Regions from separate parts of the Homo sapiens genome. Here regions 2, 3 and 4 are each linked to region 1. Evidence: promoter capture Hi-C in 16 types of primary human blood cells and fetal thymus (Javierre and others, 2016). All regions are on one chromosome and are shown on one strand. The core of a region is centred on a gene start or on the middle of the fragment in contact, and the rest is flanking DNA. Distances in the headings are between cores, read along the strand shown.

The links. The method cuts DNA at HindIII sites, captures the fragments that hold promoters and counts their contacts. A CHiCAGO score of 5 or more calls a contact.
Region 2: a contact is called between a fragment that was not itself captured here and the fragment with the promoter of P2RY10 in region 1, in 5 of 17 cell types (total CD4 T cells, activated CD4 T cells, non-activated CD4 T cells and 2 more). The highest score is 7.3, in total CD4 T cells.
Region 3: a fragment that was not itself captured here is called in contact with the fragment with the promoter of P2RY10 in region 1 in 3 of 17 cell types (megakaryocytes, activated CD4 T cells and M2 macrophages); the score reaches 8.2 in megakaryocytes.
Region 4: a contact is called between a fragment that was not itself captured here and the fragment with the promoter of P2RY10 in region 1, in 1 of 17 cell types (megakaryocytes). The highest score is 5.3, in megakaryocytes.

Annotation. Positions count from the first base shown.
Region 1 is chrX:78,942,639-78,950,632 of GRCh38, reverse strand. P2RY10 (P2Y receptor family member 10) reads right to left here and starts at 5,242. Exons shown (of 4, transcript NM_014499.4): 1 at 5,138-5,242; 2 at 2,770-2,818. The HindIII fragment of the contact is 3,107 bases long and covers 5,199-7,994 here.
Region 2 is chrX:78,529,917-78,537,910 of GRCh38, reverse strand. No RefSeq gene overlaps it. Among named protein-coding and RNA genes, the nearest start is that of RTL3, 130 kb to the left of the region's middle. The HindIII fragment of the contact is 2,590 bases long and covers 1,447-4,036 here.
Region 3 is chrX:78,568,754-78,576,747 of GRCh38, reverse strand. No RefSeq gene overlaps it. Among named protein-coding and RNA genes, the nearest start is that of RTL3, 87 kb to the left of the region's middle. The HindIII fragment of the contact is 4,074 bases long and covers 2,734-6,807 here.
Region 4 is chrX:78,589,405-78,597,398 of GRCh38, reverse strand. No RefSeq gene overlaps it. Among named protein-coding and RNA genes, the nearest start is that of RTL3, 66 kb to the left of the region's middle. The HindIII fragment of the contact is 9,536 bases long and covers 301-7,994 here.

The DNA of each region.
Region 1 (7,994 bases), core at 3,993-6,492:
AGGATTATATCAAAACCAACGTTCTTTATGGAATTGTGCTTATGAATTCAAATTATAACAAATCTGTAGATAGAAGTAATGGAACAATTTCTTTACAACAGGAGTGATCTGAATAGGACAAGACTTGCTGTAGGATACAGAAGACTCAAAAGCAGTATAATATATAGAAAGGTGTACTGGATTTGTAGCTAAGATACTTGGATTTCAGTAATTTTATATACTCTTTGTGCTGCTCTGATACGCTCTTTCCCTTCTGTGAGTTTCATTTCCTCATTATTAAAATAATATGATTTGAACTAGATGACCTTTAACTCCCTTCTAGCTCTCATTTGGTATGATTTCATGAGAATTCCCCCTCTGAACCCTGCTCCTAACTAATATCATCACCATTGACACTGCCACCATTTATGCAGCTGGTACCAACTCCATAAATCTTCACTCTCAATCTTCCCTGTCTTTTCACCACTCATCAGTAAGTCACTGGCACCACTAAGTAAACATGTTTATCAAATTTACTTCTCCATTTTATTTGATGCTGAAGCCTGTCTGTGGGCTTGTCATCCTGGGAGGGGAAGAAAAAATTAAACAGAGAAAACAAGTTGCTGATGGGGGCCCCTCCCACTCTCTAGAGGATAACTTTTACATGTCATCTGGGAACTTAACTTGCTTTGCCTCATCTTACCTTTTTCTTTTATTTTTTAACCACTAAATTTCACATGAATTATCCAAGCCAATCTGATCTCCATGACCCCGGTGTTCTTCATTCAGCCGCTTACAACCAGAACCAAAGAGTAGCAGCTAGAATTGGAAACTCTGCTGTTTCCTGAATAAATCTACATCAACTCCAAATAAGCCTGGTTGACATGAGATACACACAAATTTGGACACATTCTGCAAGTACAGACATTTTCTTCTGTTAGAGGAAGTGAAAATTATTTTTATCCTTAAAATGAATTAAAGCAATTAGACCATTAACAAAACAACAACTTAAAGTTTGAATTTGAACTTTCATGCAGGAATATGTATTGGACTTTCAATCATTTAGGAAGGCGGCCTAATTAGATATCATTTTTGCAGCTGTGGCAGCATTTTATGGGTGGAAATAATCATGTTCTTTGGAAGACCTGGTATCATATCATGTCTCAATTGTCGGTTCTCTGGCCTGAAACAATTCACTTCATATCACCAGGCTTCAGTTTCCTCTTTTGTAAAATTAGAATGGTTCCTGCCACATAATTTGTTTTGAGCATTAAAGAAAAATGTGTCTGAAAATAATAATCCGAGTAAACAGACAACCCACAGAATGAGAGAAAATATTTGCAGACTATGCATCTGACAAAGGACTAGAAACTAGAATCTACAAGGAACTCAAACAAGTCAGCAATAGAAAGAGAAATAATCCCATTATAGAGTGGGCAAAGGACATAAATAGAGATTCCTCAAAAGAAGATATACAAATGGCCAACAAACACGAAAAAATGCTCCACATCACTAATCGTCAGAGAAATGCAAATTAAAACCAGAATAAAATAGCACGTTACTGCAAGAATGGCTATTATTAAAAAGTGAAAAAAAAATAGATGCTGGTAGATATGTGGATAAAAGAGAAAGCTTCTACACTGCTGGTAGAAATGTAAATTAGTACAACTTCTATAGAAAACAGTATGGAGATTCCTTAAAGAGCTACAAGTAAATCTACCATTTGATACAGCAATCCTACTAATCACAATTGCAAAGATGTGGAATGAATCTATGTGCCAATTGACTAACGAGTGGATAAAGTAAATGTGGTGTATATACACTATGTAATACTCCTCAGCCATAAAAAGGATCGCAATAATGTATTTTTGCAGTAACTTGGATGGAGGTGGAGTCCACTATTCTAAGTAAAGTAACACAGGAGTGAAAAATAAAAAAAATAGATGTTCTCACTTATAAGTGACAGATAAGCTATGATTATGCAAAGGTATACAGAGTGATATAATGGAATCTAGAGACTCAGAAGAGGGTGGGTGAGACAGGCTAGGCATAAAAATATTACACATTAGGTACAACGTGCACTACTGAGGTGGTGGGTGCACTAAAAATCTCAGAATTTACTGCTATATAATTTACCCATGCAACAGAAAAAAACACTTGTAGTTCAAAAAATATTGAAATAGAAATGAAAAAAAGAAAATGTGTGTAAAAGTACCTATTTTCATGTCTGATACCCAATAAGTATTAAATAAATGTGAGTTCATTTCCTCTTTATTTGTACACAGAGTCATCTCCAAGGGCCTTTGGTTGGATCCTGTACATTTCTGGATTTAGAAAATCCCCTAAGAAGTGTAGTTGTAGCAGAGGACTAGAATATCTAGAGCAGTAATTTTTAAAGTTAAAGGGTAGAAAATAAGTGTTACTTGATAAAACATATTCCTTATTATAACAAATATATTTGGAAAACAAAATAAAAAATGTCATTATTGTTTCTACAATACAAACTGTGAAAGTACAGATCTACAAAATCCTCTTAACTGTTGGGCACTTAGTACTTGGAAAATGTCAATGTGATGGAGCAGATTTTTCTACAAGTCCAGGGTCTGGTCCCTAGGAAGGCAAGTTCACAGTAACCTTGTAGTGAAATGTTTACGTTTCTCAAAGGGAACCTTGGGTTTAAAAGATTGAGAAATGCCAACTGAGTGTCATTGTCACTGTGGAAATTAGATTTCAGAAAGTTTTATCTTTTGTCTTGCATTTTCTCATTTTTAAAAAAGGGAAATTACTTACAAAGCATTTGCCTGTGGTCTAAAAGTTGAAGCTGTCATGATAACATTACCTGAAAGAAATATAATGGCAATTGGGAAAGGATACTCAGTTCTCTTGGAGATCTGAACTACATTTCCAGAATGTCCTCTCTAGATAGATTTCCCTATTATGGCCCCATTATTCACCACTCCATAACATTTAACTATTCTTAGGTATCTAACAGTCTAACTCAAATCATTGGATTGCTAGGAAGGAAATTAGGAACCATCTATTCCAAGCCCTCTCCCATTATAATAGATGAGATTATTGAGATGCACAGAAATGAAATAACTCACCGAAGGCCACACCAGTCATTGGCAGAACTTGAACTATAACACAGACTTCTGACTCCTTATGTATTGATCTATCTATTTGATCACTCTACCTGTGATGTATATGAACTGATACTAGGAGAAAACTTCTCCACAAAATATACTGATCTGAAGAATAAATAAACCTTTTTGCCAAAAGCTTTTAAAATAAATCATAGACCACCGGGGAACCATTGCCCTGATTGTTAGTGCTTTTAGAAAGTCTCATTTTACTATAAACAGCTTTGTTCTCTTTGCTTGAGCCATGACAGAGAGCTATAGTATAGATAGGCAGCCTATCTTTTTTTTATTTTTTTTTTGAGCCAGAGTCTTGGTCTGTCTCCCAGGCTGGAGTGCAATGGCACAGTCTCAGCTCACTGCAACCTCCATCTCTCGGTTTCGAGCGATTCTCCAGCCTCAGCTTGCCCAGTAGCTGGGATTACAGGCGCCTGCCACTGCAACCAGCTAATTTCTGTATTTTTTAGTAGAAACGGGGTTTCGCCATGTTGACCAGGCTGGTCTCGAACTCCTGACCTCAGGTGATCCACCTGTCTCGGCCTCCCAAAATGCTGGAATTACAGCGTGAGCCACCAAGCCCAGCAGGCTGGCCTGTCTTTTAAAACCCCAACTCACTTATTTCAAACCAAAACAACCCATAAATGTGTTTATTCATTTGATGTCTTCAGATTTGAGTAGTCTGTACAACTTGAACTCTACAACTTTCCCAGTTGAGCCCCAAAATAAACTGCATTTGGCCAAAGAATCTGTGTTCAACAGGAACCATTGCAAAAACAATTGCCCCAAATGTGTGATCTGATTCTGACTGTAGTTTACACCATTTTCCACCTCAGTATATCTGCATATCACCTACTTTCATAAGTGGTTAATTTTACTGTGCTGCAATTGCTAAGAGATAGATTCTCCAATTAATATACATCATAATGACTCCACACATCCATTTGAACAACTGAAATAAAAATATTCTCACTTGCAGGATTCTTGGAACTGAGCCTACTCCCCTGGAAAGCACAGCCAAATCTGGTATCATTCTATCCAGCCTTATCCTGGTTCCAAATGATTTGGCACAGTCTCCCTTCAGGGACTCCTTAGCTGAAAGTCTCCTTTTGATTTAGTCATCTTAGCTCAGAAGGAGAGAGGTGCTAGTATTCAGAGTAATAGCAATAATAACTGAAAAAATGAGTGCCTCACTCATGGGCTTTGCTATCCAGTAAGGCTGAACTTCGGTCAAAATTAGCTTTCAAAGGATCAAGGAACCACTCTGACCAGACTCTGAAGTCATCTGGGATACTTTCTCCTTTCCTATCCTAAAAAATGGCAGGGTCACAAATAAATTTACAGTATTCTCTGGGAGATGCAAACTGCTGTAGGAAAAGGCAAACATGAGTTTAAAGACACAGGTCCTAGATCCACCTATACCACTAACAAGCTGAGTGAACCTAAGTGTCTTCACTTCACTGGCTCTCAGTTTTCCTGACTGTATTGTGAGGGATTTGGATCTCTATGGGCCCTTTCAGCCCCCAGAATCTATTACCCTGCTTTCTACTATTTGTCTCAGTATCTCTGAAAGCTAAATTTTCCAAAGCAAGGATTTTATACCCAAAAATCTTCCTTCACGATGCAGCTAGATAAATTATACACCATAAAAAATTAAATTGACTTTTATTGGCCGAATATGTCAAGTTGTCCCAATGAGTCTCACTGAATATACTCTTCTTACCACTTTGTGCCATCTTCTCTGGTCCCACTCTCTAAAGAGCCCTCATCAAAGAGTGAGCTGCATCACAGACTCCATGCTCCTGGCATAATGAAGAGGACTGATGGCATTAACGTTAACTTTGGACTCTGGTCAAACTCAACAGTAATTATCTTTGCTCCTGTTGTAAGATGTCTGAGATGAGAAACCAGTGACAATTTTAATACAGACACTGGCCCCACATCCACCTCTGTTCTGATTTTTATGATCACACCAATCTTCCCACATGAAACCACCAATCCCCAGGTGCTAGGCATTAACTTACCCTGGAGCTTAGCTGGGATAAGCACTCTTGTTTCTTTGCAGGGAGTAAAGGGTAGAAAGCTTTACTCTGGCGGCATGGATCCTGCTGATAACTGACACATTTGTTGTTGAAAGAGGAAGTTGAGTTTATCTGGTGTCTCACCACAGAAACCTTATTTGCACAAATGAAAGGTAAGTCCCTTGAGCAAATGACGTTACTCAAATTTTATTTCTTTTTATTTCATTGGTGCAGAGAAATTCAAATAGCAGGGAGTCAGAGGCTATGCATACTCACACAATGGCTATATAACAGCCTTCCTCACCCTATCTCCTTCCTTGACAACCGACATATCTAGATTTTCACTGATTCCAGTAGGTTCCATGGTAAGATGAAATTTTCAGGAAAATCTAAAGAGTGTTTACCTAGTAACAAGAAAGCTACAGCTTGTGCAAGCCTGAGGGGCAAAGGCTGAGGAAACCTAAAAAATACAAGTCAAAATTAGAAACAGTAGAAGTACCTTTGCTTAAGTTGTTCCCTCCATCTGGAGTGCCCCTCTCCCAACCCCTTCATCTTGAGGCTCACAATTTAACACATAGTTTCATTATTTTTGTATATTTATTATCCCTTTACTAGACTGCACACTGCTTGAGGGTAAAGATCATGTCTGATTCATATCTGTATTCCCAATTTGTCCAGCACAAGGCATTTTCATGAATTGTTATTGAATGAATACATATGGGAATTAATAAATAAACAAATGCTCAAAGAATGCATGAATAAGTAAATGAACATTATTGATTACGGGGTCTCCCTCCAGTGTACTAAAATTCTGGTTTTTATGTACAGTGTATATGGGGCCTTCAAAACTATGTGAATACAGGAAGATCATACACTTGAGGACTACAGTGTCAACTAAGTCTGAGAGTAGTTTTGAGAAACGAGGTTTAAAATGCAGCACAAACCCCTGTTGGCGTGTAAGGGAAAGAGAAGCTGACAGTATTGGAAACTAAGAGCTTGGGATGATTGATGGAAATGTCATAACTTGTGAAGACTGGCATCATCCTGGCTGATGTATGTCAAATGAAACAAGTTTAGCCTTTCAATCCCCTTCTTAATTTTGATTTCAAATGTTTATTCAGCTCCTATCTTTTGTTAATTTAGGTTTCTGAATTGGCATCCCTACTGAAAAGAGAATACACTGACAGACCAACACACATCTCAGTCCATTTGGCAGTTGTGTTCCTCCCTATGGTTAGTGTGAGCCAGTTTTCCTAGGGTAAGATTCTTCTCTGAACAAACAAAAAAATTCCAGACCTGTTGAGCTTTGAAGGCAAACCCTGGGATCCAGAAATACAAGAAATCCTTTTCTTACAACTGGCTATGATCACCACATCCCAACTTTATTTCACAGACAAAACCTTCACATTGCGAGAAGGAAACCTACCAGTTTACTTCATTTCTGTCTTGCACGCAAGCAGCTTCTTCTGTCACTGACCCTAAAAAGGGAAGAAAAATAAAACCAGAAGTCAGTGTCCCAATTCAAATGAAAAATTTTAACTCAGGTAAATTTTGAGTGTTAATTATTGATATGGTTTGGCTCTGTATCCCTTCCCAAATCTCATCTTGAATTGTACTCCCATAATTCCCACGTGTTGTGGGAGGGACTTGAAGGCAGTTCATTAGAATCATGGGGGCAGTTTCCTCCAGTTTCCTCCATACTATTCTCCTGGTAGTTAATAAGTCTCATGAAATCTGATGGTTTTATAAGGGGTTTCTGCTTTTGCATCTTTCTCATTTTCTCTTGCCACTGCCATGTAACAAGTGCCTTTTTCCTCCCACCATGATTCTGAGGCCTCCCCAGCCATATGGGACTGTTAAGTCCAATTAAACCTCTTTTTCTTCCCAGTCTCAGGTATGTCTTTATCAGCAGCATGAAAACAAACTAATACAATTATAATGAACAAATCTGTGGAGAAACAAAGCAAGCTGATAACCTAACAGTCATCTCCAATTAACTTTTAAAAGAAAGTCTTTTTGTTACTAGGTACGACTTATGGTTTACAAATCATTATAAACTAAAACAAAGTAATAAGTACCCTAATTATAAGATTCTTAAAAGTAGTGCAGTTGTACTATTTTACCAATAGTTCTAAATTCTTTCCTTATTCTTATGTATGTCATCAAAGTTTACTTTAAATGATGAATTATGTCTTCCATAGGCTGGGGAAAGTTTATGATTTGGTGCTTCAAAGGCTTTAAATTCTCTCTAACAGTATCAATAAATGAGGAGTGATAGCTATTGTTGAGAATGTTATTCATTACCATATATTGTGTTTCCTAGGTAACCCTAGAGCTCTATATGATTTAGTATGAGGAGAAGCTAGGTTTTTCCTAAGCAAATGGTTAAATTTTATTTTTATGAATACTGACTTTGTAATTGGTCATGTGTCTCTTTTTACAAAGTCTGATTAAAAATCATGAACCAACATAGAATCTACTGGTAGCAAGTGTGGAGATTTTTTATGGTGTGCTTTGTGGGATTCATTTTTATCATATCTCAATTTTTATGTCTTTGCCAATTTTGTCATTATTATTTTTTATCCACTTTAACTTATATTATCTTCTTATAACATTCTTCCTTTGAAACAACTTTCAGTCCTTTCTGGAACATAGTGGAATCCAAAAATGAAAAATAAAGGACAGAGTGAACTGTGAACCTCAATTCTTTTTAAATTAGAACTAGTGAAGCTAAATTGCTTTAGGTAAAATACCTTCAAGAGTTTTCCATGTCTGATTATATATCTGCAGAGTATTCCTATGCATTTTTGAAAACTAATCATTTAACAAATACTTAATGAACTACAACAATGAGAAATCT
Region 2 (7,994 bases), core at 1,492-3,991, 410 kb after region 1:
TCATTCTATCAATAAGACACTTGCACTTATATGTTAATCACAGCATCATTCACAATAGCCAAGACATGATATCAATCTAGATGCCCATCAATGGTGGACTAGATAAAGAAAATGTGGTACATATACACCATGGAATGGTGACCAGATTATCCATGGAATGGTGACCAAGTTATAATATGCAAAATCCAGAGGAATTTAAACCAGCAAACAAAAATTTGGCCATAAAAAATGAAATTATGTCCTTTGAAGCAACATAAATGCTCCTGGAGGCCATTAACCTAAGCAAATTAATGCAAGAACAGAAAACCATATACTGCATGCTCCCACTTATAAGTGGGAGCTAAACATTGAGCACACATGTACACAAAGAGAGGAACATAGACACCAGAGCCTACTTGACGGTGGAGGGTAGGAGGAGGGTGAGAGTTGAAAAACCATCGAGTACTATCCTCACTACCTGAGTGATGAAATCATTTGTATAAAAAATCCCAGAGACATGAAATTTACCCATTAAAAAGCCTGCACATGTAGCCCATGAACCTAAATAAAAGTTGAAAGAGAAATAATAGAAACATCAAAGCAGAAGACAAGAAATATAGCTTAGAAAAAATAGTATGAAGCTGCTTTGGAAAATGTAATGAACATTATCCTTTTATTTTATCGGACTTGCTTTGGGTAGATGACAAAGGTGACATTTGTTCCATTCAGAAAATTAAAAGCTAGACCTCCACAATGTTATTTATTCATGGGAAATATCTGGGTAGTGCAGAATCACTCATCAGTCAAGCAGGGTAATGCTTATCTGGGAGTGGGGGGTCAGGCTTCTAACAACCTCACTCATCTGGAATGCAGCCACAAAACTAGAATTCAGGAGGAATCGTCTCTATCCAAAGATAAAGATATGGTCAAGTCTGCCAATTTTTCTCAAAGACAATTGACTTAGCATTATATCAAAAACATAATGTCTCTAGTTAAATAAATTTCTTCTTTATCTGTTTTCTCCTAGCATCTCTCAGTTTGGCCTGTTACAGAAGACTACAGATATGATCATGGATAAACCCAACGAAAATCAGTATCTGACAATATGTAAAATGACATGGTAGTGTCATTAAATTGAGACCTGAAATTGTGGATCAGTTTAACCCAGAGTCACAGTTAGGCAAACCACAAAGCAATCTAAGAGGAGATCACAGCATAACAGCATTGCACCACTTATGTGGCTATTAAGGACCCTGCATCAAACAACAAAAAGATTACTTTTTTTTGTTCAAATCCATTTATCTGTTTATTTAAGCAGGAAAACAAATGTAATACATCTTAGAGTGCCACCTAAAATAGTTAAATGTTCCAATGTTTTAGTACTTAAAGGGGAAAATTCCATGATCCTCAATACCACCAGGTCAATGAGGCTTTCGTGTTCACTGGAAGTACTCTATGTGCCAAGCTTATGTAGAGAATAATTTAATTGAATTAAAAAATGTGCTATCAATGAACTATTTTATACAAGACATGAACTAGAGGCTGAGGTCAGGGAAGGTATTGCAAATGACAAAGGCATAAACTCTGTGCTGTAGTCATGGAGAGAAGCAAGGAAACAGGTAACTAGTTCAAGGAAGATGGTGAGAAATGCTGGCAAAACGAGATTATATGTAATGACAAGAAGTGGGACAAAGGAAGGGTTCTGCATTTGGCCTAGGGGAGATTTGGCAAGGCCCCTGGGACTGGCTAACATTTGAGCAGATCCTGAAGAATTTAGCAGGTGAAAGGTAGAGCAAAGTGATAGAAGTATATAGTAAATTTAAACAAAGGCAAGTATTCTGGTGTATCTAGAGAGTGACGGATTATGGTAAGAGATAAGGCAGGAAAGATAATTGAAGATGGCCTTGAGTTAAAAGATGAGTTTTTAATTTTGTCCTACTGGCAATGGGTAGCCATTGCCAATTTAAGCAAGAGAATGATATAAGTAAAGTTTTTTTAATACATATATATTTTATTATACTTTAAGTTCTAGGGTACATGTGCACAATGTGCAGGTTTGTTACATATGTTTACATGTGCCATGTTGGTGTGCTGCACCCATTAACTCGTCATTTACATTAGGTATATCTCCTAATGCTATCCCTCCCCCCTCCCCCCACCCCACAACAGGCCTCGGTGTGTGACGTTCCCCTTCCTGTGTCCAAGTGTTCTCATTGTTCAATTCCCACCTATGAGTGAGAACACGCGGTGTTTGGTTTTTTGTCCTTGCATGGATGAAGCTGGAAACCATCATTCTCAGCAAACTATCACAAGAAAAGTTTTTATTAAGGATAACTGATATAGGCCAGCTGCAGTGGCTCATGCCTGTAATCCAAAAACTTTGGGAGGCCAAGGATGGTGGATCACTTGAAGTCAGGAGTTCGAGACCTGCCTGGCCAACATGGTGAAACCCTATCTTTACTAAAAATACAAAAAATTAGCTGGATGTGGTGGCAGGCGCCTGTAATCCCAGCTATTTGGGAGGCTGAGGCAGGAGAATCACTTGAACCCAGGAGGCGGAGGTTTCAGGGAGCCCAGATCAGGCCACTGCACTCCAGCCTGGGTGACAGTGTGAGACTCTGTCTTAAAAAAAACAAAAAAGAATAACTGATCTAGAATGGCAAATCATTATAGCTATTCAGAAGAAAACATACATAAAGGCCTAAATTGGGTAAACAACATTGGTAGAAGAGTGTTTCTGTGTATGGTATTTTTTTTTAATTTCCAGGGAATTATAAAGTATGTTTTTATTAATCTTCTTAAAAAGAATATCTCTCGTTTGAATAAAACCAGAATCCTGTAATTTCAGTATTGTAAGTCCTCTTAGAAATTATAGCCCAACCCTATTGATGGTACAGATGATGAATCTGAGATCCAAACAGTAGAAGGGACTCGTCTCAGGGTCACATGGCTTGTTAGTGGCTTTTGAAAAATCAAAGGTAAAGTAACTGCCTACAGGTGATCATCACAAAGATAACCCAAGAATGAACTCTTTGTGGCTATCCCCAGGTTTACAAGATGCCAAACATATTGTAGGGCACCAAAAGCAAAAACTATGCTTAATAATCTAGGTTTTTCTCTAAATTAGAAAACATCTTAAACATTCAGACATCACTGGAGAGTCTTGGTCTCAGATCTGAATCTTGAAAAACCATGACAGGCAATTTGGTCAACCAGAATTTCCATCTAAGAGCCTGATCCTATATTGCAGAAATATTTTTTGACATAGGATATTGTTGCCTTTTCTTGCTGTTTTTCTTAGCACTAGAGATCACACTCCAAATTGTTTGTAAGTCATTTTGACCTGTCATAAATAAGTGCAGAACCATGATACTTCTCTGCAGCAACTCAGACTTCATTTTGGAGTTACAGAAGCATCGTATTTAACTCAACTACAAAAAGCAGACCCAAATTTCCAGGCTAAAACCTCCTGTTCAGTATTGCTTCAGACTAGGAAAATATTGCTATTTAAAACTAACTTCTGTTATTTCTGGCTTCTGCTCAAATTACGCTTTTCACAAGAAACAAATCCTCATCCAGAAGACAGAATTAGGAATCCAGCCTGAGTGAGTAATTTGGGCCTCAGATTTTTAATCTGTAAAATAAGGCCTAAATAATAACTAATGCTCTTCTAATCTGAAATATTCTTTTTTCTTCATGTCTTGTTTTCTTACCTTCTTCAGAAATTCACTCAAATCAAAATTCTCCTTCTCAATTAATCCACTTTATATAAAATTTAAATGTACGCCTCCTCTCACTATTACATACTCTTTTTTCATGCTTTATTTGTTTCTTTGTAGAACTTATCACCACCTTACATACTACATATTTCACTTGTGTAATTATTTTCCATTCCATTCACTGGGATATGAGCTTCACAACAGCAGAGATTTTTGTTTTGTTCCATGACATGAGCCTAGGATGCTCTCTTTCATATAGTAAGTAATACATATTTGTTGAGTGAAAGAATGAATGGTTCTATTTTAAGCATAATTGAATATCTGAAATTGTGAAAGCTTCTTGTAGGTCACATTTCTGATATTGAATACAAATTTTAGTACTAAGTATATATGTCTTCACACACTTTGACATTTTATAGTCAAATGTGCACACTATATACTCATTTATACTATTTCTATTTTGAAAACCAGAAAGGTTTCTAGTATCTTTTTTTCCTAACATACTGATTGTCAAGTATAAGCTCTATTCAGTGTCAATGTTTTGGTCATAAATTCAATCCTCAAGTGTAATATAATGTCAATGAGAAAATTTTTACCACATTCTGCTTTATATTTAGTATCCAGGGACAGATGCTGGCAGAAAGTAAAGACTGCCTGTTTTTGCCTACAGAAACCTACCAATTTGACATTCTTCAGAATTAAACTTTTTTTAACTATATAAGTTTCTGGCCAGAATTCAGCATATAATCAAATTTCTATTTATTCAAGTTTAATTACAGTATCCCACTATATATGCATCTATTTTTAAATAAACTCCTTGAAACAGAGTTCAGAAAAGTGATGCTTCATGCCTCTATTTCACACATTTAAGAAAACATTTTCCAACAGTAACTGTAATGTCAAGTTTTAAGAACCAGGTAGTAGAAAAGTAAAATAATGGGAATGAAAATACAAAGTCTTAGTAGTAAATCTATACCCAAGTTAACAAGGGGAGCTATTGAAGGAGAAAGGAGTAATAAATACACAGCTCAAGGGGAATATGCAGTAAGGGCATATTTCCTTAAGAATACAAATAAGAATAAGAGATAGTCTTACCAATGGTGATTGGAAAGTTTATGGACAAATTATGTAACAGCTCAGATATCCAATGTCTTCAGAAAAAGGGTATTCCGAATATGTAATTGTCTAGAAAGTTCAGCTCCTTAAGAATCAAAATTTGCCCATAAAAATATTTTATAGGACATTTTTAAATATCTTGCTCAGTTTGCCCCTTCTTTTAAAAAGCATACTGAACATATATAATGTTTACTTTCTATAATTGAGTAGTTATAATAAAGCTAAACCCATGTTAAACTGTTTCTTTTTACCAATTCCTGGAAAATGAGTTTATGTGGAGTTGGTTTTCTATAGAGACCAGTGCAACTGTGCCTTCAGTCTGTCTCAAACAATCACAACATAAGTTTATCTTTCCCAGGATTAGCCAAATATTTAGTGTTAAGTACTGAAAATCATATACCTTTTGTATTTCATTTTTCTTTTCTCCATCTCCATCTCATAAATCATTCTTCCTGGCAATCTTCCTTTACATTAAAAAAAAAAAAAGAACCACTTAGCACTGTTTATTTCCTGGCTCTCCTCCTGGTTCTGTTTAATCTCTTAGTCAAACTCTCTGTTTAAGATCTTTCTGCCCTTCTGGCAGTAGCTGTGGTATTGGCAAGCACTGGGACAGTATTCCTGTCAAAGTAGATTTTTCTGGTGCCCAAAATGATGGAAAGTATCACCACTAACCCCTAATTTTACTTCCCCATATTCAGAGAGTAAGACTTTTAAATTTACATCCCCATTTTAGGAAGTAATAGATAAAATTAGAGACTGCTTTTGCCATTAAGCCATTTTAAGAAAGCACTTGCCTGAATTGAGCAGAGCTCCTTTAGAGGTGCTGAAAGGATGTTTCCAGGTCCTTTCTTTGATCTTCAAAGAATGAAAACAGCATTTAGGAAGAAACTTCCGGAGTCTGTGGGCTGAGACCATTTTTGTTACTTCATTCTCGTCCTCCACAGTACCTAGAAAGGAAGGAAAGGAGGAGCAAGGAAAGGTATATTTTGGATTTTGCAATCAACAAAGTCATACAAGAAAGAGAAATAAGGAAGGAAATAAAGTATTGGGAAAATTCCACTAAAAATGAGTGAGTTTCCAAGATACTTGTTTTATGCCCCCCTCCATTTCCAGCTCAAGTCCTGTCTTATTCCTCCACTAGAACTTTTCAAAACCAAATCCTACAGTACACACTCTGCCTACAAATATCTATACCCCCTTATATCATTTTTCCTCCTTTTCAATCCCCAAAAGTTCTTGTGCTCCATTTCAATGCTAGTGAGACAAATGTGACAATTAAAAAGAGGTTCCTGTTCAAGAACTTGGTCCCAGTTCTTTACTTATTAAGATAGGTCATTTGACACAAAACATGGACTAATTCTCCTACTCTGATTCACTATGTGATATATAAATAATTGGTTTTAAAAAAGTACATCCAGACAAAAAAATATGCCTGCATATAGATCCTACTTAGTGTATCTGCTTAAGGCACCTCAAGCTTTAGTCACCAAAGTAATTAGAGTTGGTATTTGGGAAAACCAGACTCCCTTGAACCATGAAAGAGATATATGAAAAAACAATAAGTGTCCATACACTCATATCTAGGCCAAATTGCAAGTGTCCATTAGTTTGGAATTCAGAGTTTGGGGATGTGGTAATAAACTCAATATTTGTGACATAGCTAAAGTATCACACAATTAGCAAGACTTTTGCTAACTAACCCAGCACAAAATGTACTTTTCCTCTTGTAAACATTTACTTGATTATGGGTCACTTTTTATACAATGCTCATTTTTTTTACATGTCTTATCTACTCATACATATTTAAGAGATGCCCTGGGCACAGTTCATCTTGATCTCTGCCACCATAATGCCTGGAAAGTTCTTCTCAAACCATAAATACTGCTTTGCCTATTGACTCACAGGTGTACAGAATCCAAAGTGGCCAGGTAGCCATTTTAACTTTCAGCAGAGCATAAGGTCGCAGGCACAGAATGTACAAATTTTTCTAATGAATCACTAAAAGTAACAGTGAGTTTTGCCACTCTCATTTTCACTCCTTGATTCCTGAACCTACACATCTTGGCTATGGAAGAAGCAGCACCATAAATTGAATGTTGATTTACAGCATAACCAGCCTTCTGGAGAACACTGCCCCCAGCCCTGCATGGTATTGTGATTTGGGTGGCACAATAACTGAGTCTTCAAAAGGCTGTTCCACTATTCTATCAAGTCATCAACTTTAGGAGGTTGGGGAAATAATAACACCAGTGAATTCTGTAGGCACGGGCTCGTTGCTACCCTTCATTTGTTGTTAAGTGATTTCTTCATCAGAAGCAATGCTGTGTGGAATTGCATGATAGTAGAAAGGCATTCTGTAAGTCATGAATGGTAGTTTTGGTAGAAGCAGTGCATGCATCCATATCCAAATTGTTTATTCTAATGTGGTAATATATACAGCATGGAATACAATTCATCCATTAAAAAGGAATGAAATAATGTCTTTTGCTGCAAGTTGGATGGAGCTGGAGGCCATTATTCTAAGTGAAGTAACACAGGAATGAAAAACCAAAAACCGTATGTTCTCACTTATAAGAGGGAGCTAAGCTATGAGTACACAAAGGCATACAAAGTGATATAATGGACTTTAGAGACTCAGAAGGGGGAGGGTTGGAAGGCAGTTAGGGATTAAAAAAGAAAGTACACATTAGGTACAATGAACACTACTCAGGTGACAGGTACACTCAGAATTTACCACTATATAATTCATCCATGTAACAGAAACCCCCTTGTACCACAAAAGCTATTGAAACAAAAAAAAAATAAAAACAAAAACAATGTATTTATTCCAGTAAGAACAAAACACTGCCCTTTCCACAAGGAAAGTGGTCTGCTGTAACCAACCTACCAGTGGGTACTTGGCTAATCACTTCAGTAAATGGTGCCATATTGGGAGCTCAGTGTTGTTCTGTGCTGCTGACAGATGGGACACTCTGCAGTGACTGTAGCCATGTCAGCCTTGGTGAGTGAAAGTTCATGTTGCTGACCCCAGGTATAACCTCCATCCCTTCCACTTTAGCCATTTTCTTCCTAAATCCATTGGAAAATGAGAGCAGTGCCTGGGGAAAGAAGTTGACTGTTAGCCACAGATTGGGTCATCCTATCCACCTTATTAAAATCCACGTCTGCTCAGGTCACCCT
Region 3 (7,994 bases), core at 3,521-6,020, 370 kb after region 1:
ACATATTTTTCTTTAGTTGTTTGAACATACCCATAATAGCTAAATTAAAATCTTTGTCATATGAGTCCAACATCTGGACTTCCTCAGGGGAAAGATATATTTTTAACTGTGTATAAGCCATACTTTCTTATATCTTTGCATGTCTTATATTTTTATCTGGGAAAAAGAACATTTTAAATAATATTATGTTTAATTTTTGGATGTTAGATTCTCCTGCTCCTTCCCTGGAGATTATTGTTGTTTATGCTTGTTTATTTTCTGACTTTTTGAAACTAATTTTGTAAGGTCTGTATTCTTTGTCTTGCATGGTCACTGAAGTCTCTGCTCAATTAGCTTAATAATCAGCTAATGACTGAAAACAGATTTCCTTAAATATATTAAACCAATAAGTCCTCCAGTCTTTTCAAGAGACTGTTTGTGTGTGTGTGTGTGTGTGTGTGTGCGTGCATGTGTGAAGGCACAACTTCTTCACTTCCTGCTTGCACAAGTGTCAAAGTATGCCATAAGTGTTAAAGTAGAACACTTGGGTCTTCTCTGAGTATGCACAACATCCTGGTCATGCACACAGCCCAAAGGATGCATGTGGCCTCCTAGATTCTCAGAAATATGTTAGAGTTTTTCAAAGCCTCTACAGACATGTCATTCTCCAGATTTTCTTTTTAAGATGTTTGGTTATCTTATTGGCTTTTCCTTCTGTTATCCACTGCTGCATACACCTGTGAAGTTAAACCATTGTCTGTAAGTGTTTTCAACAAATGTCCCTGAGGGGAGGGGCTTTTTTCCACTGAATAAACTCTTGAGTCAAGTCAAATATAGTCTTCCAAAGGGGTGTCTTCCAGCGAACCATCACACAAGTTGAATAGTAAAAATCCTCTGAAAATGAAAGTTAAAAGAGCTCCATCTCCAAACTTCCATTTCTAGTGGCTGCCAGGCTGCTGGTTTTTACCCTAATTTTGAGTTGCTGATTTTCATAGCTGCTGCAGAGATAGAAGCAGAGAGTGAAAATAGGGCAAGTTATAGTTCCACAAAGCTCACTATTCTTCCTGAGATTCATCTGCTTTTCTTAACACACAACAGAATTCTCTATTAAGTAGATAATGCGGTTAATACAGGTGACCACACACGTAATTTCTACCTCTCCATATTTTAGAATATGTTATCAGTTGTCCCAAATAAAACTGTTTACTCTGCTCTAGAATAGAAGTGTAGGAATAACATGTACTACGATTTCCTTTGGAATAATGGTACAGTGAAAGGTACAGCATAGACACGACCTCTGGAACCCTATCAGCCTGTCATCTTTCAATAGGCAGGCTTGTTGTGTGGAGGTCCTAGAACCTAGGTGTGGGAAGAATAGAAGGGGAAATATATAAAACAGCTGAAAGCAAGTCATGGTTTTTGTCCTAATTCTAATTCCAATAGACTTTGCTGTAACTCAGTAAACTCTATTTCAGTTGTTTTCCAACACTTCTCTTAGTTATCCACAGTATATTAAGGGATTTGCAGGTTTCAACAGGGATCAAAATCAGGCTAAAGCTGGAATATACTCTTAGAACTGCTATCCAAGTACCCTTCCAGATAATAGCTTCCTAAAAGTCTTATTGCTCAAAATCCTTTTCTATTACTTAGAAAACAGAACAAATAAGAATTGAGTTGGGAGGGAACAGATATTCAAAACAGTAAATTTGTTTCAATAAGTATTTGTTGAGTCACAATGTACATAGCATTATACTAGGCACAGCTGTAGGGGCTGAATGGAGGAAATAAATGCAGATATGAATTATATAAAGCTACTACCCTCCGGAAATATACACCTAAGCAAGAGAAGTCTAAAATAGAAATATCAAAAGACACACGTCAAAATAAGGAAACTGCCTATTAAAGAGTACTAGCAAAGTACTCCAAAGATGCAGAAGAGAGTAGAGCACCACAAGGCCATTTGAAATGGACCACAAAGGGTGAACAGGATTTTTCACTAAAGTGAGCATAGGCACTACATGCTGAAGGAAAAAGAATCCAATGTCACTTGTTAATTCAATACTTGTAGGGTAGAAGTGTCTACAATTCAGAAACTAGTTGAGAGCAGATCATGAAGGACTTTGAATGCAAGGTGAAAGGGTGTATTTTTTTCTGTAAGCAATAAAAAGCCAAAGGCTGATATTGTTAAGGAAGTGTTTGACATGAATGAGGTTGTACTTCAGGAAATCAAACCTTGAAGTCATGTGCAGAAGGAATTGCGGAAACAGGTGGTGGTTGGGCAGGGAAGATAGCAGTAAGAAGTCTGGTGAGATGTTGCAAGGCTCTGGATAATAAAGTATTATCATAGGCCAGAACAACACCACAAAGCAATAAAATGTTGGTTTTGGTGCTAGGTTGTCCTAGTCCATTCTTATCCACAGCCCTTTATTCTCCCACGTCTATTGTCATTTCACCACGTATTTTCTGGTGATATTTGTTCCAGGTTTTTTTTCTCTCTCTCCTGATACTAACCTACTCTCAACCCCCAGGACTTCTTGTTAGTATCAGTACCCCTGGGCCTTGCTCTTTGTTGTCCGCACTTAATTATAAAATGTTGGAGCTAAGATCACGCAACTTATAGAAGAGCCAATTTGACATCAGGTCAAGTTGACTCCAAGTTTTAAAAATTCTGTATACATGATGGGGAAACTGAAGTGCAGAAAGGAAAGTGATTTGTCAAAAGTCACATATGAAATCTTTGTCTCAACTGAAGCTTGCAGAAAAGAGACTTAAGAGATTAAGGCCACTCCAATGTTTCTTCCGCTGGATTACATTGCCAGGCTCCCAAGCTGTTATTTATCGCTGAGTAAACTTTAGGCTACAAGGTGTTGGGTTGGTGGTATCTGGTTAGTTACAGCCATGCTGACTGGACTTAGGCCAAAGATCTATGTGTACTCAGCCTCTTCCAGCAACACCACACTCCCCTCAGTTAATCTTAGTCCCCAGCTGTCAAAACAGGTGGTACATGGAAAAAGCCTGAGAAAGCAGCACTGCTGAGAGAGGAGAACAAAAATGCTGAAGTCTGAGAGAAATTAGGTTACTAAGAGGGCTGACTGAAGAAGGAAGCCATAGAGCCTCTTTCAGGCAGGCAGAATATATGGGGGTAAATGAATAGTAAAATGTACATACAAGAAAATGCAGAATGAGGTAGAGCAAGATGGCCAAATAGAAGCCTCCACTGATCATCCTCCCTGCAGGAATACAATTTTTTTTATAACCACCTATTCAAAAAGCACCTTCATGAAAACCAAAAATCAGATGAGAGATTGCAGTACCTGATTTTAACTTCATATCACTGAAAGAGGCACTGAAGAGGGTAGGAAGGACAGTCTTGAATTGCCAACACCACCCACCCCCCGACCTGGTGTCAGTGGCCTCATGGCATGGAGAGAGAATCTGTGCATTTGGGGGAGGGTGAGCAAAATGAATGTGGAACTTTACATTGCAATGCAGTGCTAACAACATTGGGAAGAACTCAGCTGATGCCTGTGGAGGGAGCATTTAGACCAGCCCTATACAAAGGGGAATTGCTCATCCTAGCAGTTGAAACCTGAGTTTTGGTAAGCCTCACCGCTGTGAGCTAAAGCACTCTAGGATCCTAAATGAACTTAAAAAGCTGTCTAGGCCAGAAGGACTGCAATTCCTAAGCAATTCATAGTGCTGCGCTGGACTAGGGGAGTCACATGACCTAGCGAGACACTATCCAGGGCAGCTAAGGGAGTGCTTACATCATCCCTCCCCAAACTCCAGGTGCAGCCATCAGCTCCAAAAGCAAACCCTTCCTTCGGCTTGAGAGGAGAGGGAAGAGTGAAGTGGACTTTGTTTTGCAACTTGGATTCCAGTTCAGCCACAATAGAATAGGGCACTAAGCAGAGACAGGAGGCCCCAATTCCCAGCCCTAACTCCTGGATGACATTTCTAGACACACCTTGAAATTGAAGGGAATCTGCTCTCTTGAAAGGAAGGACCGAGTTGACAGGATTTGTTACCTGCTGATTAAAGCCCTCATTGGACCTTGAATAATCAGCACCGATAACAAGAGAATACATGTCATGGGCCTTGGGTGAGACTCAGAGAGATGCTGGAATAAGGAGTAACCAAGCATATTCACAGCTGTGATGGCTATGAAGATGGATAGACTCCTTCTGCTTGAGAAAAGGAGAAGGAAGTATAAAGGCAACTTTTTCTTGCAACTTAGGCGCTAGCATTGCCACACTGGGAAAGAGCACCAAGTGCGCTCTTGGGGTACTCAATTCCACATCTTTGATCTTGGATGGCATTTCTGGACTTTCCCTGGGCAAGAGGGGAGACCACTGCTGCTGCTGTGAAGGTGAGTCACAGACCTAGCAAAAACTGCTTGACAAGCCCTTGGGCTTTAAGGAAACATTGGCAGTACTTCCTGTGGACTGGTGGTAGTGGTGGAAGAGGTGAGAAACACCCCTGCCTGAGGAAATGGGAGGAAAGACTGAGAAAAACTTTGTCGTGTGGTTTCAGTGCCAGCTTAGCCAAAATAGAATAGAGCACCAGGTAAAATCAAAGGTTTCTGACTCTAGGCAGTAGCTCCCAGATGGCAATTCTGGACCTGTCAGGGGCCTAGAAGAACTTGCTTTCCTGGAGGGAAGGACACAAGATTAACTGGCTTAACCACCTGGTATTTGTAGACTCCTAGGTCCCTGGACAAACATAGGTGGTAGCCAGGTAGTAGTTACAGCAGGCCTCGGGCAAGGTCCAGTACTGTATAGGCTTCAGATCAGACCCAGCACAGTCCAAGTGGGGGTGGCCACAGGGATGTTTGTGTTATCCCTCACCCCAGCTCCAGGCAGCTCAGCAAAGAGAGTGAGACTCTGTTTGTTTGGGAGAAAGTGAGGAAAGTGAATAAAAGTCTGTTCTTGGAAATCCAGGAAATTCTTCCAGATCTTATCTAAGACCACCAAGGTGGTCCCTGTACAAATCTTCAAGAAATATGATGTTACTGGGCTTGGGGTGCCACTAATGGAAATACAGATATAGTGCCCAAAAACTTAAATCACAACACCTAAGTCCCTTCAAATACCTGGAAAGCCTTCCCAAGAAGAATGAGTACAAACAAGCCTAGACTTTGAGGACTACAATAAATACCTAATTATTCAATGCCCCCAAATCACCAAATATTCATAAGCATCAAGACCATCCAGGAAAACATAACCTCAGAAAATAAACTAAATAAAGCACCAGGGACAAACCTTGGGGAGACATAGATATGGTGACTCTTCAGGCAGAGAATTCAAAATAGCTGTCTTCAGGAAACTCAAAGAAATTCAAAATTACACAGAGAAGAAGTTTAGAATTCCAGGAGATAAATCGAACATGGGAATTTAAATAATTAAAACGAATCAAGCAGAAATTCTAGAGGTGAAAAATGTGGGTGACACACCGAAAGATGCATCGGAGTCTCCTAATAGCAGAACTGATCAAGCAGAATAAATAATTAGTGAGCTTTAAGACAGGCTATTTAAAACTACACAAAGGAAACAAAAAAAAATGAGGCACGCCTAGTAGATTTTTAAAAGGGCAAATCTAAGAGGTATTGGACTTAAAGAGAAGGTAAAGAAAGAGATAGATGTAGAAAGACTTACATTTCATATAATGGGTGTTGAATACACATTCTTCTCAACACATGGATTATTTTCAAAGATAAACTATTATGTTAGGCCACAAAACAAGTATTAAAACATCCAAAATATTAAATAATATTTAGCATCTACTCTGACCACAATGGAATAAAACTAGAAATCTATAATAAGAATAATTTTGGAAACTATATAATCACATGGAATTTAAACAATATTCTCCTGAATGACCAGTGGGTCAATGAAAACAGAAAGAGAAAATTCATAGGAGAAAAGAAATAAAGATCAAAGAAGAAATAAAGAAAATTAAAATTGAGAAAATAATACGAAGATTAACAAAACAAAAAGTATTTTCAAAAGATAAAAATAATAAAACATTTTAACCAGACTGAGAAGAAAAAGACAGAAGACAAAATAAATAAAATCAGAGATTAAAAGAGAGACATTGCAACCAATTCTGCAGAAACTCAAAGGTTTATAGAGGTTACTATGAGCAACTATGTGCCAACACATTGGAAAACCTAGAAGAAATAGGTAAATTTCCAGACACATAAAATCTACCAAGATTGAACCATGAAGAAATCCAAAACATAAATAGAACAGTAACTAGTAAAAAGATTGAAATCATAATGAAAAGTCTCCCAGCAAACAAAAGCCTGGGACACAATGTCATCACTGCTGAATTTTATGAAACATTTAAATAAATAATACCAATTCTACTCCAATTATTCCAAAAAATAGAGGTAAATGGAATAATTCCAAACTCATTCTACAAGATCAGTATTACCCTGATAACAAAACCAAACACTTATCAAAAAAAAAGCCAAAATCTCTGATGAACATTGATGCAAGAATTCTCAACAAAATAGTAGCAAACTGAATTCAACAACACATTAAAAAGAACATTCATCATAACCAAGTGAGATTTATCCCAGGGATTCAAGGATGGTTCCATATATGCAAATTAATTAATGTGATATATCAACACAATGAAGGAAAAAAACCACATGATCATTTCAATTGATGCTGAAAAACCATTTGATAATATTGAACATTTCTTTATGATTGAAAAAGAAAACCTCAAAAAACTGGGTATAGAAGGAGCTTACATCAACAAAATAAAAGTCATATACAATGGCCCACAGTTAGTATCATACTGATTGGGGAAAAACTGAAAGCTTTTCCACTAAGATAGGGAACATGACAAAGATAACCACTATCACCATTGTTATTTAACATAGGACTGGAAGTCATAGCTTGAGCAATCAGAAAGGGAGAAAAATAAAGGGCATCCAGACTGGAAAAGAAGTCAAATTATTCCTGTTTGCAGATTATAGGATCTTATGTTTGAAAAAATCTAATGATGCCAGCAAAAAATTAAAACTAATAAGCAAATTCAAGGAAGTTACAGAATACAAAATGAACAAACAAAAATTGACAACATTTTTAATATGCCAAAAGCAAACAATCTGAAAAAGAAATCAAGAAAGTAATCCCATTTACAATAGCTACAAGTAAAATTAAATATCTATGAAATAACTTAATCAAATACTTAAAATACCTGTACAATTAAACTATAATTTACTGATGAAAGAAATGTAAGAGGACAAAGATGGAAAGATATTTTATGTTCATAAATTGAAATAATCAGTATTGTTAAAAAGTTCATATTGCCCAAAGCAATCTATAGGTACAGTGCAGTCTTTATCAAAATATCAAGGACATTCATCACAGAAAGAGAAAAGGCAACTATAAAACTTATGTGGAGCCACAAAAGACCCTGAAAAGCTAAAGCTATTCTGAGCAAAAAGAACAAAACTGGAGAAATCACCTGAGTTCAAATCATACTACAGAGCAACAGTAACCACAACAGCATGGTACTGGCATAAAACCATATGCACAGATCAGTGGAACAAAATAGAAAACTCATTTTTTGGTCATTTCCTTCATTAGGGTTTTATAGTTTTCATTGTAAAGATATTTCACCTTGGTTAAGTTAATTTCTAGGTATTTAATTTTACATGTGGTTATTATAAATGGGATTACTTTTTAATTTCTTTTTCACATTGTTCACTGCTGGCATATAGAAATGCTACTGATTTTTGTATGTTGATTTTGTATCCTGCAACTTTACTGAATTTGTTTATCAGTTCTAATAAAAATAAAAACAGACTCATGAACATGGAGAGTAGAAGGATGGATACCAAAGGCTGAGAAGAGTAGTAGCGGGCTGAAGGGTAGGTGGGGATGGTTAATGGGTACAAAAAATATAGAAAGAATAAATAAGGCTTACTATTGATAGCACAAGAGTGACTACACAGTCTGTAATAACTTTATTATATATCTTTAAATAGCTTAAAGAATGCA
Region 4 (7,994 bases), core at 3,819-6,318, 350 kb after region 1:
GGACATGTGGGTTGTATGTGTTTTTTTGTTTTTTGTTTTGCTATGAATATTCGCATGACTCTTTGTGTAGACATATATTTTCAATTCCATATATTTTCTTGGTTAATGCCAAGGAGTGGAATTGTTGAGCCATATGATAACCTTCTGTTTAACTTTTTGAGGAAATGTCCAACTGTTCTTCAAAGTGGTCACACCACTTTATGTTTCCTTCAGCAGTGTATGAGTGTTCCAATATTTCCACATCCTCACTAACATTAGTTTTTGGCTGTTGTTTTTATTCATACAAGTGGATATAAAGCTTTATCTCATTCCAGTTTTGATTTGCACTTCTTTATTGACTGCTAACACTGAGAGCTTTTTATGTGCTTATTAGCCATTTCTATAACTTCTTTGGGGAAATGCCTATATTTTGTTGAGATGTAAGAGTTTGTTTTTGTATACTCTGAATACTAGACCCTTGTCAGAAATATTATTATGCAAATATTTTCACCCATTCTGTGGGGTTACTTTTCATTTTCTTAACAGTGTCCTTTTGAAAAATAGATAAATTGGATTTCATCAAAATTAAACACTTTGAATCACCAAAGTGGTGATTCAATAGATAAATCCAATTTATCTATTTTTCCTTTTGTTGCTTGTACTTTCAGTGTTATATCTAAGAATTCGTTGCTAAACACATGGTCACAAAGATATGCCCTAAGTTTTGTTCTAAGAGTTTTAAAAATTTAGCTCTTATATACAGGTATTTAATCCATTTTGAGCTAAATTTTATATATAGGGTGAGGTAGTAGTCCATTGAATTTGGATAGCCAGTTGACCCAGCACCTCCTATTGAAAAGACTATATTTGTCCTTACTGAATTTTCTTGGCTCCCTTGTTGAAAATCAATTAACCATAAATGTATGAATTATACCCTATGTCACTACAACTTGTCCCCTCTCCACTGGGCCAGGGGAGAACTCAGTGCTCTGAAGTAAGAAACACAAGCCTGGCTGGATTAAACACTTGTTGACTGAAGAGCACTTGGGCCTCGAGTAAAGATCTGTGGTAGCCAGGAAGTGGTTGCTGCAGGCCTTGAGTAAGAACCAGTCTTACACTGGCTTCAGGGCTCATCTGGTAGTATCTCAGTGGTGGTGGCCAATGAGGTGCTTGTATTACCGTTCCCCAAGCTCCAGGGATCTCAGCACAGAGAGAGTCTCCATTTGTTAAAGGAAAAGTAAGGGAAAAAACAAGAATCTCTGCCCAATAATCCAGATAATTCTTCCAGATCTTTTCCAAGACCACCATGAAGGTACTCTAAGGGTCTCCAGGGACCACAACATTACTGGGCTTAGGGCGCCCCCTAATGCAGATACAGCTTAGATCACAACACCCAATTACTTTCAAATCTGGAAAGCCTTCTCAGGAAGAATGGCTACAAGTAAGCCTAGACTGCAAAGACTATAATAAATGTTTATCTCTTTAATACCCAGACAGTAATGAACATCCACAAACTTCAAGGTCATCAAGAAAAACATGACCTCCCTCACAAAGCAAGCTAAATAAGGCACCAGGGATCAAACCTGAGAAAGACACATATGTGATCTTTCAGACAGAGAATTCCAAATAGCTGTGTCAGAGAAAACTCAATTAAAAATAATACATAAAAGGAATTCAGAATTCTATCAAATAAATTTTTAAAAGAAATTGAAATACTTTTTTTAAAAATCAAGCAAAAATTCTGCAGCTGAAACATGCAACTGACATACTTAAAAATGCACCAGTCTCTCAACAGAAGAATTGATCAAGCAGCAGAAAGAATTAGTGAGCTTGAAGAGAGACTATTTGAAAATACAGTCAGAGGAGACAAAAGAAAAAAATAAAAAAGAATAAAGTACACCTACAATATCTAGAAAATAGTCTCACAGGGGTAAATCTAAGAGTTATTAGCCTTAAAGGAGAGGTAGAGACAAAGATTGGGCTAGAAAGTTTATTTAAAGGAATAACAACAGATAACATCCCACACATAGAGAAAGACATCAATATTCAAGTACAAGAGTATTGTAGAACACCAAGCAGATTTAACTCAAAGAAGACCACCTCAAGGCACTTAATAATCAAACTCCCAAAAGTCAATGATAAAGAATGTATCCAAAAAGCAGCAAGAGAAAATAAACAAATAACAAAAAAAGGCTCCAGTACATGCGGCAGAAGACATATTAATAGAAACCTTACAGGCCAGAAGAGGGTGACATGGCATATTTAAAGTGCTGAAGGAAAAATACTTTTACCATAGAATAGTATACCTGGGGAAAACATCTTTTAAATGTGAAGGAGAGATAAAGACTTTCCCAGACAAACAGAAGCTGAGTGATTTTATCAACATTGGACTTATCATACAACAAATGCTACAGGGAATTCTTCATTTGGAAAGAAAAGGAAATTAATGAGCAATAAAAAATCATCTGAAGGGACAAAACTCACTGATGATAACAATAAGTACACAGAAAAACACATAATATTATAACACTGTAATTGTGGTATGTAAAGTACTCATATCTCAAGTAGAAAGGTGAATAAATGAACCAATCAAAAATAATAATAACAACAACTGTTGAAGATATATACAGTACAATAGGGTATAGAAAGAAAGAACAAAAAGTGAAAAATCAAGGAGACAAAGGTAAAGCACACACTTATTAGTTTTCTTCTTGCTTGTTTGTTAGGTTCTTTGTTTTCACAATCAGTGTTAACTTGTCATCAGTTTAAAATAATGGGTTGTAAGATGTTATTTGCAAGTCTTATGGTAGCCTCCAATAAAGAAATCTACAACGGATAGACAAAAAATAAAAAGCAAGAAGCTCAAACATACCAGCAGAGAAAATCATCTTCCTCAAAGGAAAACAGGAAGAAAAGAAGAAAGAGAAGACCAAAAGAGAACCAGAAAACAAATAAGAAAATGCAGACGTGAGTCCTTACTTATAACATTGAATGTAAATGGAATAAACGCTCCAAAAAAAAGTCAAAGAATGACTGAATGAATTAAATAAAACAAGCCCCAACAACCTACACAGCATGAAAATAAAGGGATAGGAAAAGATATTCCATGCAAACAGAAACCAAAAATGCAAGAGTAGCTATACTTATATCAAACAAAATAGATTTCAAGACAAAAATTATAAGACGAGACAAAGAAGGTCATTAAATAATGAAAAAGGTAGCAATACAGCAAGAGAATAAAACAATTGCAAATATATGCAACCAGATGTATAAACAACCAGATGTATAAGCAACCAGATGTATAAAACCAATATTATTAGAGCTAAAGAGAGAGACAAACTACAAAATAATAAAAGCTGAAGAGTTCAAAACTCCACTTTTAGCACTGGACAGATTATCCAGACAGAAAATAAACAGAGAAACATGTAACTTAATCTGCAATGCGAATCAAATGGACCTAATAGATATTTACAAAAAATTTTATACAACAGCTGCAGAATACACATTTTTGTCCTCAACACATGAATCATTCTCAAGGACAGATCATCTATTAACCCACAAAACAAGTCTTAAAACATTCAAAAAAGTAAAATTATACCATGCATCTTCTCCAACCACAATGGAATGAAACTAGAAATAAATGACAAGAGGAATTTTGAAAACTATACAATCACATGGAATTTTTTTTCATTGTTTCTGAGTGAACAGTGGATAACTAAAGAAATTAAGAAGACAATTTAAAAATTTATTTAAACGAATGAAAAAAAACACAACACTATTGTATACGGTAACTGCGGTTCTGACAAGAAAACTTATAGCAATATATGCCTATATCAAAAAAGTAGAAAAGGAAGAGGTGGAGCAAGATGGCAGAATAGAAGACTCCAAGGATTGTTCCCTCTGCAAGAACACCAAGTAAACAGCTATCTACCCAGAAAAAAAAAGAAAAGAAAAAAGAAAACCTCCATAAGAGCCAAAAATCAGGTGAGGATTCATAGTACCTGTTTTTAACTTCGTATTTCCAAAAAGGACACTAAAGAGATAGAAAAAAACAGTCCCGATTCACCAATGCCATCTCTCCACCACCCCAGGCAGCAGCTCTGTGGTGCAGAGAGCTTCTCTGGGTGATGAGGGAGGGAGAACATAGTAAATGTGAGGCATGGATCTCAGTGCTGTCCTATTAGAGCAGAAAAGAAAACCAGAACAAACTCAGCTGATGTCTGCCCCAAGAGGAAACGTTTAAACCAGCCCTAGCCAGAGAAGAATTGCTAATCCCAGAAGTCCAATCCTGAATGCCCACAAACCTTGCCACTGAGAGGGAAAGTGTCCTCTGTCTCTAAACTTGAAAAGCAGTCTAGGCCATAAGGACTGCAACCCAGGCAAGTCTTAGTGTTAGCAGTGGCAAATCCATACAAGTCTGCTGCAACCTCAATTCTTGCCTCCTCAGAAGAAAATTCAACTGAGAGCCATAAGGCAGAGGGAGAGATTGAGGCCAGTTTTAGGGTAGGAGTGAAAGTTAATTAAAAATTTTTAGAGCAGGAATGAAAGGAAGTAAAGTACACTTGCAAGGGGGCCAAAAGAGCGACTTGAGAGAGTCAAGTGTGTCATTTGACCTTTGACTTGAGGTCTTATATGTTGGCATGTTTCTGGGGTTGCATTAATTATCCCCTGATTCTTCCCTTGGGGTGGGCTGTCCATATGCACAATGACCTGTTAGCATGTGGGAGGAGTCACATGCACAATGTGTTTACTGAAGTTATACACATGTGCACTTGAGGTGTTCTTCCTTTACTCGTCAAGTATCCTAGAGGAAGGTCATATACTAGTTGAATTCCACCACCCAAAATTTCATCATGAATTGTAATCCCCATTATCCCTATGTGACAAGGGCAGGACCAGGTGAAGGTAATTGGATCATGGAGGCAGTTTCCACCATGCTGTTTTTATGATAGTGAGTGAGTCTCACGAGACCTGATGGTTTTATAATTTCCCCTGCTTGCACTCACTCAGTCCTACTGCCCTGTGAAGAAAGTACCTGCTTCACCTTTGCCTTCTGCCATGATTGTAAGTTTCCTGAGGCCGCCTCAGCAATGCAGAAGTCTGAGTCAATTAAACCTCTTTCCTTTCTAAATTACCCAGTCTCACGTATTTATTCATAGCAGTGTGAGAATGGACTAATAAAAGTTCTGACTCAGCATATTCATAGTGGTGGTGGCCACAGGGGTGCTTGTGTCACTCCACCTCCAGTTTTAGGTAGCTCAGAACAGAGATAGAAACTTTGTATATTTAAGAGAAAGTAAATGAAGATAACAAAAGTCTCTGCCTGGTAATCAAGAGAATTCCCCCAAATCTTGTCCAAGGCCATCAATGTGGTACCTCTACAAGTATTCAAGAACCAAAGCATTACCAGGCTTGGGGTGCCGCCTACACCAGAAATAGCTTAGATCACAACATCCAGTGTTTTTCAAATAGCTGGGAAGCATTCCAGAGAAAAACAGCTACAAATAAGCACAGACGGTGAATACTACAATAAATACCTAACTCTTGAAGACCTAGACACAAAACATCTACCAGCATCAACACCATCTAGGAAATTATGACCTCAAAAAATAAACTAAATAAAGCACCAGGGACCAATTGGAAGGAAGAGACACATGTGAACTTTCATACAGAGAATTCAAAATCGCTCTGTTAAGAAAACTCAAGGAAATTCAAGATAACACAGAGTAGGAATTCAGAATTCTATCAGATAAATTTAACAACGAGGTTGAAATAACTAAAAAGAATATAGCAAAAATTCTGGAGCTGAAAAATACATTTGACATACTGAAGAATGCATCAGAGTCTTTAATATCAAAATGAATCAAGGAAGGAAAGAATCAGTGAGTTTGAAGACAGGCTATTTGAAAACACAGAGCCAGAGGAGGCAAAAGAAAAAAAAACAATCAGATCTACATGATCTAGAAAATAACCTCAACAGGGTAAATCTAAGAGTTATTGGCCTTAAAGAGGAGGTAGAAAAAGAGATAGGAATAGAAAGTTTTTTCAAGGGGACATTAACAGAGAACTTCCCGAATGTAGAGAAAGATACCAATATTCAAGTACAAGAAGGTTATAGAACACGAAGCAGATATAACTAAAATAAGACTACCTCAAGGCATTTAATCATCAAACTTTCAAAGGTCAAAGATAAAGAAAGGATCCTAAAAGCAGCAAGAGAAAAAATAAATAAATAAAATACAAAGGAGCTCCGTTACATTAGGCAGCAAACTTTTCAGTGGAAGTCTTACAGGCCAAGAGACAGTGGCATGACATATTTAAAGTGTGGAAGAAAAAAAAAACTGTTACCATATATCATATAATAAAATATCTGAAAAAATTCTTCAAACATGAAGGAGAAATAAAAACTTTCTCAGACAAACAAAAGCTGAGGGATTTTATTAATACCAGAGCTATCCTACAAGAAATGATAATTTCTTCAATCAGAAAAAAAAGTCATTAATGAGCCATAAGTAATCACCTGTAGGTACAAAATTTACTGGAAATAGTAAGTACACAAAAAATACACAATATTATAACACTGAACTGTGGTTTGTAAACTACTCTTACCCTAAGTAGAAAGACTAAATGATAAACCAATAAAAAATAGTAACTATAACATATTTTCAAGACATAGTACAATCAGATATAAATAGAAACAACCAAAAGTGGGACAAAGTTGAGAAGAGTTTTTTATTAGTTTATTTTTGTTTGTTTGTTTCTCTACACAAGTAGCCTTAAGTTGGTATGAGGTTAAAATAATGGGTTCTAAAATAATATTTGCAAGCCTCATGATAACCTAAAACCAGAAAACATACAATGGATACACAAAAAATAAGAAGCAAAAAACTAAATTATATCACCAGAGAAAATTATCTTCACCAGCAGAAGACGGGAATAAAAGAAAAAAAGAAAGAGAAGACCACAAAACAACCAGAAAACAAATTACAAAGTGGCAGGAGTAAGTCCTTATTTATAAATAATAACATTGAATGCAAACGGACTAAATTTCCCACTTAAAAGACATAGAATGAATAATATATATATATATACATATATATATATCCCTTGATCTTTTGCCTAAAACAAACATACTTCACCTATAAAGACACACACAGACTGAAAATAATGAGATGGAAAGGATATTTTATGCTAATAAAAAATAAAAAAAGCATGAGTCACTATATTATATCAGACAAAATAGGTTTCAAGACAAAAATTTACAAGAGATAAAGAAGGTCACTATATAATGATAAAGGGCTCAAATCAGCAAATATATATGATTTTTATATATCATTATAAAATTATACCTATATCATTTATTATATATGATATGTATTTTATATGTCAGTATAAAATCATATAATTTTAAATATATATGCACCCAACACTGGAGCACCCCGATATATGAACCAACTATTATTAGAGCTAAAGAGAGAGATAGGCTCTAATACAATAATACCTGGAGGCTTTAACACCCCAATTTCAGCATTGGACAGGTCTTCCAGAAAGAAAATCAAGAAACATCAGACTTAACCTACACTATAGACCAAAATAATCTAATAGCTATTTACAGAACATTTTATCCAAGAGCAGCAGCATACACATTTTTCTCTTCAGCACAAGGTATATTCTCAAGAATAGATCGTAACTTATAGTATACAGCAAAAGCAGTAGTAAGAGGGAATTTTATAGCTGTAAGTGACAACATCAAAAAGAGAATAATCTTCAAATAAACAATCTAACAATGCATCTTTAAAAACTAGAAAACCAAGGGCAAACCAAACCAAAATTACCAGAAGAAAAGAAATAATAAAAATCAGAGAAGACATAAATGAAATTAAAATAAAAAACAAAGAAAATTAATGAAACAAAAAAATTGTTTTTTAGAAAAGTTTAAAAAATGACATATCTTTATTCAGACTTAAAAAAAGAGAAAAAATGCAAATAAGCAAAATCAGGAATGAAAAAGGAGA